Linked DNA regions of Homo sapiens: region 1 is linked to region 2. The links are contacts of gene promoters, found by promoter capture Hi-C in human tissues and cell types (Jung and others, 2019). All regions are on one chromosome and are shown on one strand. Each heading gives the region's core, a stretch centred on a gene start or on the middle of the fragment in contact. The rest is flanking DNA. Distances are from core to core; before and after follow the strand shown. Region 1 overlaps LRP4 (LDL receptor related protein 4). Region 2 holds the start of RAPSN (receptor associated protein of the synapse).

The links. Contacts are between HindIII fragments. The study calls those that stand out against the background at their distance.
Region 1: a fragment that was not itself captured here is called in contact with the fragment with the promoter of RAPSN in region 2 in 1 of the 25 tissues and cell types used here (lymphoblastoid cells).

What each region holds. Positions count from the first base shown.
Region 1 is chr11:46,902,816-46,909,680 of GRCh38, reverse strand. It overlaps LRP4 (LDL receptor related protein 4), which reads left to right. Exons shown (of 38, transcript NM_002334.4): 2 at 6,752-6,865. Among named protein-coding and RNA genes, the nearest start is that of LRP4, 12 kb to the left of the region's middle. RefSeq lists enhancers at 2,085-2,917, 2,918-3,752. The HindIII fragment of the contact is 3,286 bases long and covers 1,998-5,283 here.
Region 2 is chr11:47,447,886-47,453,906 of GRCh38, reverse strand. RAPSN (receptor associated protein of the synapse) reads left to right here and starts at 4,771. Exons shown (of 8, transcript NM_005055.5): 1 at 4,771-5,134; 2 at 5,757-6,021. The coding sequence starts at 4,943. The HindIII fragment of the contact is 7,804 bases long and covers 290-6,021 here.

The DNA.
Region 1 (6,865 bases), core at 2,391-4,890, 540 kb after region 2:
AATATGCTTTAGCATATTATAAACGAATGGTGATTCCTCCTTTTTTTTTTTTTTTTTTTTTTTTTTTTTGAGACGGAGTCTCGCTCTGTCGCCCAGGCCGGACTGCGGACTGCAGTGGCGCAATCTCGGCTCACTGCAAGCTCCGCTTCCCGGGTTCACGCCATTCTCCTGCCTCAGCCTCCCGAGTAGCTGGGACTACAGGCGCCCGCTACCGCGCCCGGCTACTTTTTGTATTTTTAGTAGAGACGGGGTTTCACCTTGTTAGCCAGGATGGTCTCGATCTCCTGACCTCATGATCCACCCGCCTCGGCCTCCCAAAGTGCTGGGATTACAGGCGTGAGCCACCGCGCCCGGCCGATTCCTCCTTTTCTCATTGTAATCCTAATAGCTTCCACACTGGGGTAGCCACCAGACTCCAGAACACTCACAGGGTACTCCTTAAGCCTTCTCATCTCTGGTTCAGCTTGAAAAAGCTGGTCTGTAGCTGTGAGTAGTCACGGTCTACCCATGTGCCTCCATGTGACAGATGTGGTCCACCTTCAGCTGTGCATTCTATGGAATGGTGGAGAGCAGTGCCGCTAGACACTTGAGTGTGCATCGGTGTCACCCGGAAAGCTTACTGAAAGTCCAGACTCTGAGATCACACTAAGAGAAGAATACTAGTTTAAGTGTCAGAATGGGGCTGCCATCCTGGCTCTCCTACTTACCTTGTGACCTTGGCCAAAGCGGGTGCCCTTACCTGTTGGATGGGCCCTGCAGTCATTGCTCAGGATTATTGTAATGATTCAATGAGAATGCAAGTGCATATGCAAAAGTAGCTCACAAACTAAAGAGAAATTGCAAAGTATAATTATTTGTTATGGGAAGCCCTGTTCCCTGGACCAACAACACTCGAGTGCTGATTCAAAAGTGCTGGGACGCCAGACTTTCCCCACTTCATTACTTTACCTTCCGGCGAGGGAAATGAATCTTTCTTTACCTTAGCAGTAACCAGAAAGAGGTCACTGTTTGAGACCCATAAACTCACTGCATATTTGCTATTGGAGAACACATAAAAGAGAGGGACCCAGAAGTTGTAAATTCCCCCTTTTGACCTTGGGGTTTTGGAGATTCTCACAACAGTAATACCATTTATTGGGAAGCAGTATAATCACCTGCCTGGGTGTGAATGCTGGCCTCAACCCTTAGTACTTGTGCAATCTATCTACAGACTTAACCTTTCTGTGGTTCATTGTCCCCAGCTGTAAAGTGGTGATAATATTAGGTTGGCGCAAAAGTAATTGCAATTTTTGTCATTAAAAGTAATGGCAAAAACCGCAATTGCTTTTGCATCAAACTAATAATAACAGTACCACCTCCTAGGGTTGTTGAGAGCCTTCAGTGATGTAGCATATGAAAAGCACTTAGAAAAGTACTCGGAGGGCACCTGGTAAGTATTTAATAAATGATGGGGCCAGGCGCAGTGGCTCACGCCTGTAATCCCAGCACTTTGGGAGGCCGAGGTGGGCGGATCATGAGGTCAGGAATTTAAGACCACCCTGGCCAACATGGTGAATCCCCGTCTCTACTAAAAATACAAAAATTGGCCAGGTGCAGTGATGGGTGCCTGTAATCCCAGCTACTCAGGAGGCTGAGGCAGGAGAATTGCTTCTCGGGAGGCGGAGGTTGCCGTAAGCTGAGATCGCGCCACTGCACTCCAGCCTGGGCAACACAGCAAGATTCCATCTCGGAAAAAAAAAAGATGGTTATATTATTATGAAGCTTTTGCTGTGTGTTAGCCCTGTGCTAAGCAGTTTATATGGGTTAATCTTTACAAAGCCCTTTGAGTTAGAACTGTTAATATTCCCATTTTATGGATGAGGAAACTGAGGCCTGGAGGGATTAACTAACTTGCTCAAAATTGCGGAATTTGTGGTAGAACCAAGATTTGAACCTTCATCTCTCTGACTTTAGAATCTATGTTGTCTACTACTAAGTTAGTGTGTCTTGTATACCAGATGGATGTTTCCCTTCTTTCCTTTATATCAGGGCTGTCCAGACTTTTGGCTTCCCTGGGCTACACTGGAAGAAGGATTGTCTTGGGCCACACATAAAATACATGAACATTAACAACAGCTGATGAGCTAAGAAAAAAGAAATCGCAAGTAATCTCATGTTTTAAGGAAGTTTACGAATTTGTGTTGGGCCACATTCAAAGCCATCCTGGGCCATGCAAGTCTCAGGTTGGACAAGCTTGCTTTATATGAAAGCCGTGAGAAAGTGGTAAGATGGCGGGAGTGGGAGAGATGAGATGTAAAAGGTAAGATTTTAGTTAACCTCTAGAGAAACATCCTATGAGCACATTAACATATATCCCAAAAGCTGGATGGCTTCATGATCAAAGATACCTTGCGGACAGACCTTTTCCATAGTGAATTGCATTAGGTGGAGGGGCTAGAGCCCAGGCCCCTGGAGGCTAAGGGAGCTTGCGATGTGGCTGGCAGCTTTCAAGGCCAGAGCATAGTGAAGTGTTCTAATTCAACACTTCTTAAAATGAAGGCTGCATTTTGCCACCCACAGTCATTTGTTTTCTTTCTTCACTCACCATTCTTTTCCTTAAAAAGGGTTAAAAGCTGCCTTTATGATCACAGCCAGGACTTGAGTGAAAAGGCAGAATTCCACCTCTGAGGACCCCAGAGGGACAGCAGTTGCCCAGAAGAGCTGGCTTTTTGGAGTATAATGTGTCTGTTTACTGTATGAATGCCCAAGTCAAGCGTTTGCCTGACCGGTGGCTGCCCGCCCTTCACTGCAGCGGACGCTGAGATGTTGATTTGACATGCAGGAAGTCGAGGCCCTTCAACTGCCTGCAACTAACTTGATGCCCACCGATGGAATGCTTTGTTCCTACAGTCTGCGCGGGGGAAATCGGGACTTCTGTTATCACTCAGCCAAAGGCGGGGGTGGGGCCCTAAAAAAACAAACGGAGCTTAAGGTTCTTCCCTACCAGTATGACTTTTCATTTGCACGCAGCCCCAGGACACTGCTCTACTTGCTCTATTCTGGTACTCTGATTCTTAATATCAAGGCCTTTTGGAAAAATTTAGCCTCCACAGCCCTGCATCTGCACAGCCCTGCATCTGCACACCCCAGCCTCCATTATTGAACATCTTTGGTGTGCCAAGGCATAAGATTAGTTTTTTCCACCTTTATTTTCTTGTCTAATCTTTGTTGCTTTTTTTTTTTTTCGAGACAGAGTCTCGCTGTGTTGCCCAGGCTGCAGTGCAGTGGCGTGATCTCTGCTCATTGCAACCTCTGCCTCCATGGTTCAAGCAATTCTTTTGCTTCAGCCTCCCAAGTAGCTGGGACTACAGGCGTGCGCCACCACGCCCAGCTAATTTTTGTATTTTTAGTAGAGACAGGTTTTCACCATGTTGGCCAGGCTGGTCTCAAACTCCTGACCTCAAGTGATCTGCCCGCCTCAGCCTCCCAAAGTGCTAGGATTATAGGCATGAGCCACCATGTTCAGCCCCTTGTGGCTTTTTTACAAACAAGAAAACTGAAGCTTAAGGGGCTACGTGACTTGCACAAGGTCAACTGGCTGGTCGATGGAACCCAAGTCTGTCTGCTCCAGGTCCAGTGCTTTGTCCTCTGCCTAACCTCCTCCTCCTATTCCCCCCTACTTCCTCTCTGTCCTTTCCACAGCTTTCATCCTGAACTCCCGTCTGGTACATCCCCACTCCCTACTGTGTGTGGTTAGCAGCATTTCTCAACCTCTGTTGATGTTTTGGGCCAGATAATTCTTTGTCATAGGGGCCTGTCTGCATGTTATAGATTTTTTTTTTTTTTTTTGAGACGGAGTTTCGCTCCTGTTGCCCAGGTTGGAGTGCAATGGCATGATCTCCCCTCACCGCAACCTCTGCCTCCTGGGTTCAAGCAATTCTCCTGCCTCAGCCTCCCAAGTAGCTGGGATTACAGGTGCCCACCACCATACCCGGCTCATTTTTGTATTTTTAGTAGAGACGGGGGTTTCACCACATTGGCCATGCTGGTCTTGAACTCCTGACCTCAGGTGATCCGCCCACCTGGGCCTCCCAAAGTGCTGGGATTACAGGCGTGTAATCCTGTATAGAATTATACACGTTATAGAGTCTTTAGCAGCATCCCTAGCTTCTACCCACCAGATGTCGGTAAGCACCGCCAAGCAGGACAACCAAAAATGTCTCCAAACATTGCTAAATGTCCTCCGGGGGACAAAATATCCCCAGTTGAGATCCTTATTAGCCTTATCCTTTTTCTTCACCATGATACCCCATGAAGGGGATCTGTGTACCGGGGAGTCCCATCACATGGAGTGGAATTAAACATCTTTGCTGTTCAATCCAGCTAGAGTTCACCAAAAGGGTGCCTACAGCTGTGCTGAGCCTGTCATACTACTGAAGTTCCTCAGGCTGTGTTGTCCAGGATCTGAGTGAGAAAAACCCTCCTCCCTTCTCAGAGTTCTCAGGCCAGAAAGGATGGAGTGGGGGCAGGGGCACCTGGGTCTTTTAGTGCTTCCTGGGGAAGAATCCTCTACCCTGCATTTGTAGAGAGACCCGAAGAGACAGGAGCACTGGGCTTGGAGCAAGGCCTTCCTGTGAGGTCTAGAGACACTGCACCTCCCAACTGGACCTCACTTGGCTTCCGCAGGAAATCCTGCATCTTTTTTTTTTTTTTTTTTTTTTTTTTTGAGACAAGGTCTCATCCTGTCACCATGGCTGGAGTGCAGTGGTGAGATCATGGCTCACTGCAGCCTCAACCTCCCGGGCTCAAGTGATTCTCCCACATCATGCTCCCAAGTAGCTGAGAGTACAGGTGTCCACCACCATGCCTGGCTAACTTTTGTAAATTTCTTTTCTGTAGAGACAGGGTTTTGCCATGTTCCCCGGGCTGGTCTCAAAACTGCTGTGCTCAAAGGATCCACCTGCCTCAGTCTCTCAAAGTGCTGATATTACAGGCATGAGCCACCGTGCCCAGCCCAATCCTGCATCTTTTCTAGAGCAGCTGATTACCATAGCATGTGGAGGGAGAGGGCCAGGCCTCAGTTGAGAATCTGGTGAAAGCTGTGATCCCTTACCCCAGAAACGTACATTATACCTGTAGCATCAGGGATTCACAGAACCCAAAAGCCATCCATCCATCCATCCATCCATCCGTCTGTCCGTCCATCCATCCATCCATCCATGCATTGCAGGCTAGGAAGTTTTACCTTATGCTTGCACTTACTCTTGGGGTTGAGATGGAGAGGGAAAGTTCTAGAGCTCTCTCCCTGCTTTTGGAGGGCATGGCAGCACACCTTTTTATCCTGGCCCTAAGCCCTAGGCTAGGCCAAGGAATTATAATGTGAGACAAGGATGTACATCAAGGAGATGAGCTGAGAGAGAAAAGCTGGACCAGGTACAGAGTATAGGAAGAGGGGTGACAATTTCGAGCTGACTCCTTCTCTGTTTCAGCCCAGCCTGAGGGCAGGGTCCAGCTGAGGGAAGGAAGAGGAGAAGAAAGGAAGGGGGAGAGATGAGCCATGCGCTGCGGCCCCCTCCTTCCCCAGCTGCGAGCAGAGCAGCCCAGCGGGTTGGATGAATGCTGGGAGGGGGGAGAGTGACCCTGGCAGAACCCTTTGTTCCAGCTGAGGCTGGAGCAGGGCACTGAGCCATTCACACGCCATCCCAGGGCATCCTGCTGGGCACGCTGGGGAGGGGGCACAGCAGCTGGTCATGGGACTTGGCCAGGCAGATAGCTCGATGCTCAATAGGGAAGCCCAGCTGCGTGCTGCTGAAGCCGGGGGAGAGGCTGCATCTGCCAGCCTTCCTCAAGGCTGTGGCCTGTGCCACAGACAGGAAGGCCCTGGCAGGTCCCAGTTACTCTGCCCTGAGGTGGCCTGGGGGACTCAGAGCAGCCCACCCTGCTTCCTGCTCCCCTGTGTGGATTCCTTATCCTAAAGAGGCTCCAGCATTTTAATTCCACCATTAGTTCTTGCCCTCCCTGGCCAACATCCCAGGGTCTGGTCCAAGACAGAGGCAGAGCGTCCATATCTCAACCTAGTTTTAGTGAGAAGGCTATGGAGGCCTCTCAACATCACCCTTTCTGTCCCTTGTTCCTCTTCTTCAAAAGCACCAAACCTCTGAGTGGCATCATTTTTTTTTGGAGGGGGTTGTTTCTTTTTTTCTTTTTTGAGACAAGGTCTTGCTCTGTTGCACCTGCTGGAGTGCAGTGGTGTGATCATAGCTCACTGCAGCCTTGACCTCCCAGGTTCAAGCAATCCTCCCACCTCAGCCTCCCAAGTAGCTGGGACTACAGGCACATGCCACTACCCTCAGCTAATTTTTTAGTTTTTTGTAGAAACAAGGTCTCACTATGTTGCCCACGATGGTCTTGAACTTCTGAGCTCAATCAATCCTCCCATCTCAGCCCCTCAAAGTGCTGTGATATAGGTATGAGCCACTGTGCCTAGCCTAGGTGGCATCATCTGTTTCTGGGCCCTTAGAGGTGCCATGCAAAAAAGCCCTGTCATAGAGCGGGTCACCTGGACTCTTTGTAAGCCCAAAGTCAGAGGGTATCTGCTGGGTCGTTTATGCCCTGGAGGAGGCATGGTTTTACTGCCTGCATCTCCCTTGAAGTGTCACTGTGACTCTCCAGGTGACAGTGCCCCTGGACTAGGCTCCTCTACTTTCCCCTCGGAATGGGCTTGGGTTGAGTGGGAGCTGAGCCCTCACTGATTCCTTTTCCCTCCGCCCAGGCCTGGCCAGCAGCCCCGAGTGTGCTTGTGGTCGGAGCCACTTCACATGTGCAGTGAGTGCTCTTGGAGAGTGTACCTGCATCCCTGCCCAGTGGCAGTGTGATGGAGACAATG
Region 2 (6,021 bases), core at 3,522-6,021:
CTGTGTCCGCAGTTGGTTCCTTCTAGTGGGTTCGTGGTCCCGCTGACTTCAAGAATGAAGCCGTAAACCTCTGTGGTGAGTGTTACAGCTATTAAAGGTGGTGCAGACCCAAAGAGTGAGCAACAGCAAGATTTATTGTGGAGAGCAAAAGAACAAAGCTCCCACAGCGTGGAACGGAACCTAAGCGGGTTTCTGCTGCTGGCTTGTTGGGGTGGGGATGGGCTGGTCGGGGAGGCAGCTTTTATTCCTTTATTTGTCTCCACCCATGTCCTGCTGATTGGCCCATTTTACAGAGCACTGATTGGTCCATTTTACAGGGTGCTGATTGGTCCATTTTACAAATCTCCAGCTAGCTACGGAGCACCGATTGGTGTGTTTTTACAGAGCACTGATTGGTGCATTTTACAAACCTCTAGTTAGCTACAGAAAAGTTCTCCTAGTCACCACTCCACCCAGGAAGTCCAGCTGGCTTCACCTCTCACCACCACGGGCACTCCAGCCTGGGCGACAAGAGTGAAAAACTCCATCTCAAAAAAAAAAATAATAATAAAGAAGAAATGAAATGTTTCAAGGAAACATAAGGTACTCTGCTACCTAGAATAAGCGAGTATGGGCATATTCCCATCACTGAAGTCAGATGAGCAAAGACCTGTCTCAGGGAAAGGACAGCTTGATCCCATCAAGTTTTCAAGTTTTGAGGTCATTTGAGTTCCCCAGGAAAGAGGAAGGCTGTGGTCCCCAACTCTGTTGGGGTGTAGATGCAGGCCGCCCTTCCTCCATTCCTTCCTGCCAGAGACTCAATGTGAATAGTGTCTGGGCCTTGGAGTGGGGAGAATCTGCTGGCCCTTCACACCTTCGCTGTGGGCCCAGCTTCCCTCCCATCTGCAGCTCAGCATCAACCCAGGCCTCCCTGAGATGAGAGAAGACCCCAGCCAGCTCTCCCTCCCTTTCCCAGGCTTAGGAGCACTCCTTTGGGGAGTCCAGGTGGCCTTGCCCAGCCACCTGTCCCAGAGCCTGCTCCCACTCTGCCTCTGTTGAGCCTGGGGCATTTGCCTTCTGACCCCCAGAGCGTCCCCTCTGACCCGTTGGGCTCTCAGGAAGCAGGCCGTGTAGTTGCTCTGAATTTCCCGGTGAAGCCGTCTTTCCTCCGCTTCTTCCCCATTCACCGATATTTGACATTTATTGAGGGGCCACAGTGTGCCGGGCCTTGCTCTGGGAATACAGTCAGTAATGAAGGAGACAAAGTCCTGCCCTGGGTTAGGGCCCAGCCATATGACCTCATTTGAGTGAAGAATAAAGACATTCAGCAAACAACCTCACTAATATAAAATTATAGAGAGGCTGGGCGTGGTGGCTCACGCCTGTAATCCCAGCACTTTGGGATGCCCAGGCCAGCGGATCACTTGAGCACAGGAGTTCAAAACCAGCCTGGCCAACATGGTGAAACCCCGTCTCTACTAAAAATATAAAAATTAGCTGGGCATGGTGGCATTGCCTGTAATGCCAGCTACTTGCGAGGGTTGAGGTGGGAGGGTGGCTTGAGCCCAGGAGGTCGAGGCCTCAGTGAGCCTAGATTGTACCACTGCACTCCAGCCTGGGCGACAAAGTGAGACCCTGTCTCAAAATAAAATTATAGAGATAAGTCCTGTATCAGAATGCAGTGTAATTCAATGAGAGGATAATATGCTGATTCATCCTAATTATGACTTACGAGGCAGAGTGTGGGTGTGGTGAACAGAGAAGGAATTAGGAGGTGCAAAGGCCCTGGGGCAGACAGGTAGGCAGGTACCAGAATGTAACAGTTGCCATATTACTCACACTTCTGCTCCAAGCATATACCTAAGAGAAATGAAAACATGTCCCCATAAAACCTAGTACATGAATTTTTTATTTTTTTGAAACAGGGTCTCGCTCTGTCACCCAGGCTGGAGTGTAGTGACATGATTGCGGCTCACTGCAGTCCAAGCTTGTAGGCTCAAGCGATTCTCCTGCCTCAGCCTCGCGAGTAGCTGGGACCACAGCTGTGCACCACCACACCCAGCTAATTTTTTTTTTTTTTTGTATTTTTTGTAGATATGGGGTCTCGCTATGTTTCCCAAGCTGGTCTCCAACTCCTGGGCTCAAGTGATCTGCCTGCTTCAGCCTCCTAGTGTGCTGGGATTACAGGCGTGAGCCACCGTGCCCAGCCCAATTTGTACATGAATTTTTATAGCATCATTATTCATAGTAGCCAAAAATGAAACAACCCAAATGCCTATTAACTGCTGAATCAACAAAATGTATATCCAGACAATGAGTATTAACCAACCACAATAAGTAATGAAGTTCTGATACGGTTGAAAACATAGTTGAATCTTGAAAACATTATGCCAAGTTAAAGAAGCCAGTCACAGATGACCACATATTGTATGATTCCATTCCTGTGAAGGGTCCACAATAGACAGGTCCATAGACACCAGGTGGCTTAAATAACAGAAATTTATTTTCTCACAGTTCTGGACGCTAGAAGTCCAAGATCAAGGAATTGGCAGAGTTGGTTTCATTCTAAGGCCTTGCTCCTGGGCTTGTAGATAGCCATCTTCTCCCTGTGTCTTCACGTGCTCTTCTTCTGTGTGACTGTGTCCTTTTTAAACATTTATTGTGGGCCAGGTGCGGGGGCTCACGCCTGTAATCCCAACACTTTGGGAGGCAGAGGTGGGCAGATCATGAAGTCAGGAGTTCCAGACCAGCCTGACCAACATGGTGAAACCCCGTCTCTACTAAAAATACAAAAATTAGCCAGGTGTGGTGGTGCGCAGCTGTAATCCCAGCTACTCAGGAGGCTGAGGCAGGAGAATCACTTGAACCTGGGAGGTGAAGGTTGCAGTGAGCCAAGATGGCACCACCACACTCCAGCCTGGGTGACAGAGGGAAAGTGTCTCAAAAAAAAAAAAAAGTATTGTGGTCAGGCATGGTGGCTCACGCCTATAACCCCAATACTTCGGGAGGCTCTGAGGCAGGTGGATCAACTGAGGTCAGAAGTTCAAGACCAGCCTGACCAACATGGTGAAACCCCGTCTCTACTAAATACAAAAACTTAGCCAGGCGTGGTGGCATACACCTGTCATCCCAGCTACTTGGGAGGCTGAGGCAGGAGAATTGCTTGAACCCGGGAGGTAGAAGTCTCAGTGAGCTGAGATTGTGCCACTGCACTCCAGCCTATGCAACAAGAGCAAAACTCCGTCTCAAAAATAATTTTTAAAAATAAAAATTTATTGTTTATTTATTTTTTGAGACAAGGTCTTGCTCTGGTGCTCAGGCTGGAGTGCAGTGGCACAATCACGGCTCACTGAAACCTCCACCTCCAGGAGTTCAAGACCAGCCTGGGCAACATGGTGAAACCCATCTCTACAAAAACTAGACAGCTGTGGTCTCAGCTACCCAGGAGACTGAGGTGGGAGGGTCACTTGAGCCTAGGAGGTAGAGGTTGCAGTGAGCTGTGACTGCACCACTGCACTCCAGCCTAGGTGACAGAGTGAGACCCTGTCTCAAAAAAAAGGGGGGGGGGATACCAGTCTTAACTGGATGAGGTACAATGTGACTTCATTTTACCTTAATCACCCTTTAAAGACCCTGTCTCCAAAGACAGTCACCTTATGAGATACTGAGTGTTAGGACTTAAACATATGCGTTTGGTTGCGGGGGGACATGATTCAGTCATATCAAGGTGGGGAATGGAGTGGTGTAACTGCTGATGGGTGTGCGTCTCCTTTTTGGGGTGGTTAAAATGTTCTGGAATTAGTGGCAATTAATGTGCATCTCTGTGAATATACTAAAAACCACTGAATTGCCCAGCCAGAAAGGATAAACTTTTGCCCTGGGGCAGGAAGAAGGCTGGCATGCAGAGAGAGGAGAAAGGGGGGCTGGATGAGCTGGCCTGCTAGCGGGGGCCCCAATACTACATAAGACCTTGCCCTTCTCCACAGTATCTGGTGTTAAATCTCATTATGAGGACCCTTTCAGCCCGGGGTTGGGATTGGAAGTGAGACATTGAAACTTCAAGGGCTGGGTTCTGGCCCGGGTGGGGATTTGCCATGGAGCAAAATAGCCTCTTGCAGCACATGCGGGGTTTCCTGTGCCGGGCACTGTCCTAAGTCCTTCTCAACTCTTTCGTCATTGAGTTCTCATAGCAGTCCAGTGAGCCAGGTACCATTCCTCTCTTCAGTCCACGGTGCCAGGTCACTTGGCTAGGGTCCCACTGAGAGTTCGAAGGAAGCCAGGCTAGAGCTCAGGCCTCTCACCAGCTGGAGGTCTTTCCCAGACTCTCTAAGGTGAGAGTTGGTGAATGGTGTCAGCCTGGGCCTGGATGAGTGACCCACGGTGCTCAGTGAATTTCAGGAACAGAGCCAGGGGATGCTGCGGTCAGGGGTGTCTTGATGGGGAAGAAGCAGGGCTGGGCGCTCACCTGGCTTCCCCGGACCTGCAGGTCCAGCCTCGCTCTCCTTCCCCCGAGCACCTCTAGCCCAAGGCCTGCCCACTTGCTGGAGCTGGCCCCTTGGCAAGGCTGCTGGGAGGGCCCGTGCTGCCAGGGCGGTCAGGGTCAGTGTCAGAGGTGCCTAAGGGACGCCCAAGGGGGTGCCCAGGTGGCAAGGTGCCTGTATGCTCAGGGAAGCCACGTCCCAGCTCGCGGGTGGGTGCAGCAGAGGCCCACGTGACCTTGCTGCTGACATTCCTCAGAGGCCATGTGGCCCCAACTGGCAGCGACAGCTGCAGACGGGCTGAACCAGCTTTGTTCCCAGGGTGGCGCCTGCTCTCCATCCAGGCCCCATTCCGGCTCCCACCCGACGCTGCTTTTGTTCCCACGTTTCGGGGGGCAGCTGGCACTGTGATTCCTGCCCCATGAGTGCCTAGAGGCACGGAGCCACCAGGGATCACCCCACGTGGGACACAGGGCTTGGGGAGGATGGGGCAGGACCAGACCAAGCAGCAGATCGAGAAGGGGCTCCAGCTGTACCAGTCCAACCAGACAGAGAAGGCATTGCAGGTGTGGACAAAGGTGCTGGAGAAGAGCTCGGACCTCATGGGGCGCTTCCGCGTGCTGGGCTGCCTGGTCACAGCCCACTCGGAGATGGGCCGCTACAAGGAGATGCTGAAGGTGGGTGTACCCGGCCTGGGGGCGTTCGAGGGTCAGGCTGGGGCCGGATGTCTCCCAGGCTCCCCAGTCCCCTCTCGGCCTCCTCGGGCTCCCCTGTGTCCCACAGGCTGGCAGCCAGGGCCCGAGGCTCTGAATTTATATCTAAGGCCCTGGGTCTTAGATACTGAGTCTTGGCATCAGATTCAGGCCTGTGGCCTTGAACTGTGGTGCCCGAGTCTCTGAGACTGAGGTTCTCCAGCCTCAGGGTCGAGGGTTTGTGGGTCTCAAGCCCATTGTAGGTTTCAGCCTTCCTGTCTGGTGTTCTGTGTCTGAGCCTGGCGGGGTGTGGGCTCCAGGGTTGCGGCTGGGGGTGGGTGGGTGGTGGAGACTCCAGATCTGAGGCTTGGGATAGAAGGTGAAGGCTGCAAGCCTGAGCTTGGGAGGTGAGGCTGGGGTGTAGGGAAGGTAGCTGAGGCTGGCGGGTAGAAGCTCTGGGTCTGAAAAGAAGCTTTGGGATCTGCTGCTTTGGGTGTGAGGCTGGGGGGTGGGTGTGGGGCCTCCAGGTCTGAGCCTGCAGTGCAGGCTGGGGTCCAAGGCTCAGAGTCCAGGCTGAGCACCACCTGCCCACCGTCGCTGTGTGCAGTTCGCTGTGGTCCAGATCGACACGGCCCGGGAGCTGGAGGATGCCGACTTCCTCCTGGAGAGCTACCTGAACCTGGCACGCAGCAACGAGAAGCTGTGCGAGTTTCACAAGACCATCTCCTACTGCAAGACCTGCCTTGGGCTGCCTGGTACCAGGGCAGGTGCCCAGCTCGGAGGCCAGGTCAGCCTGAGCATGGGCAATGCCTTCCTGGGCCTCAGCGTCTTCCAGAAGGCCCTGGAGAGCTTCGAGAAGGCCCTGCGCTATG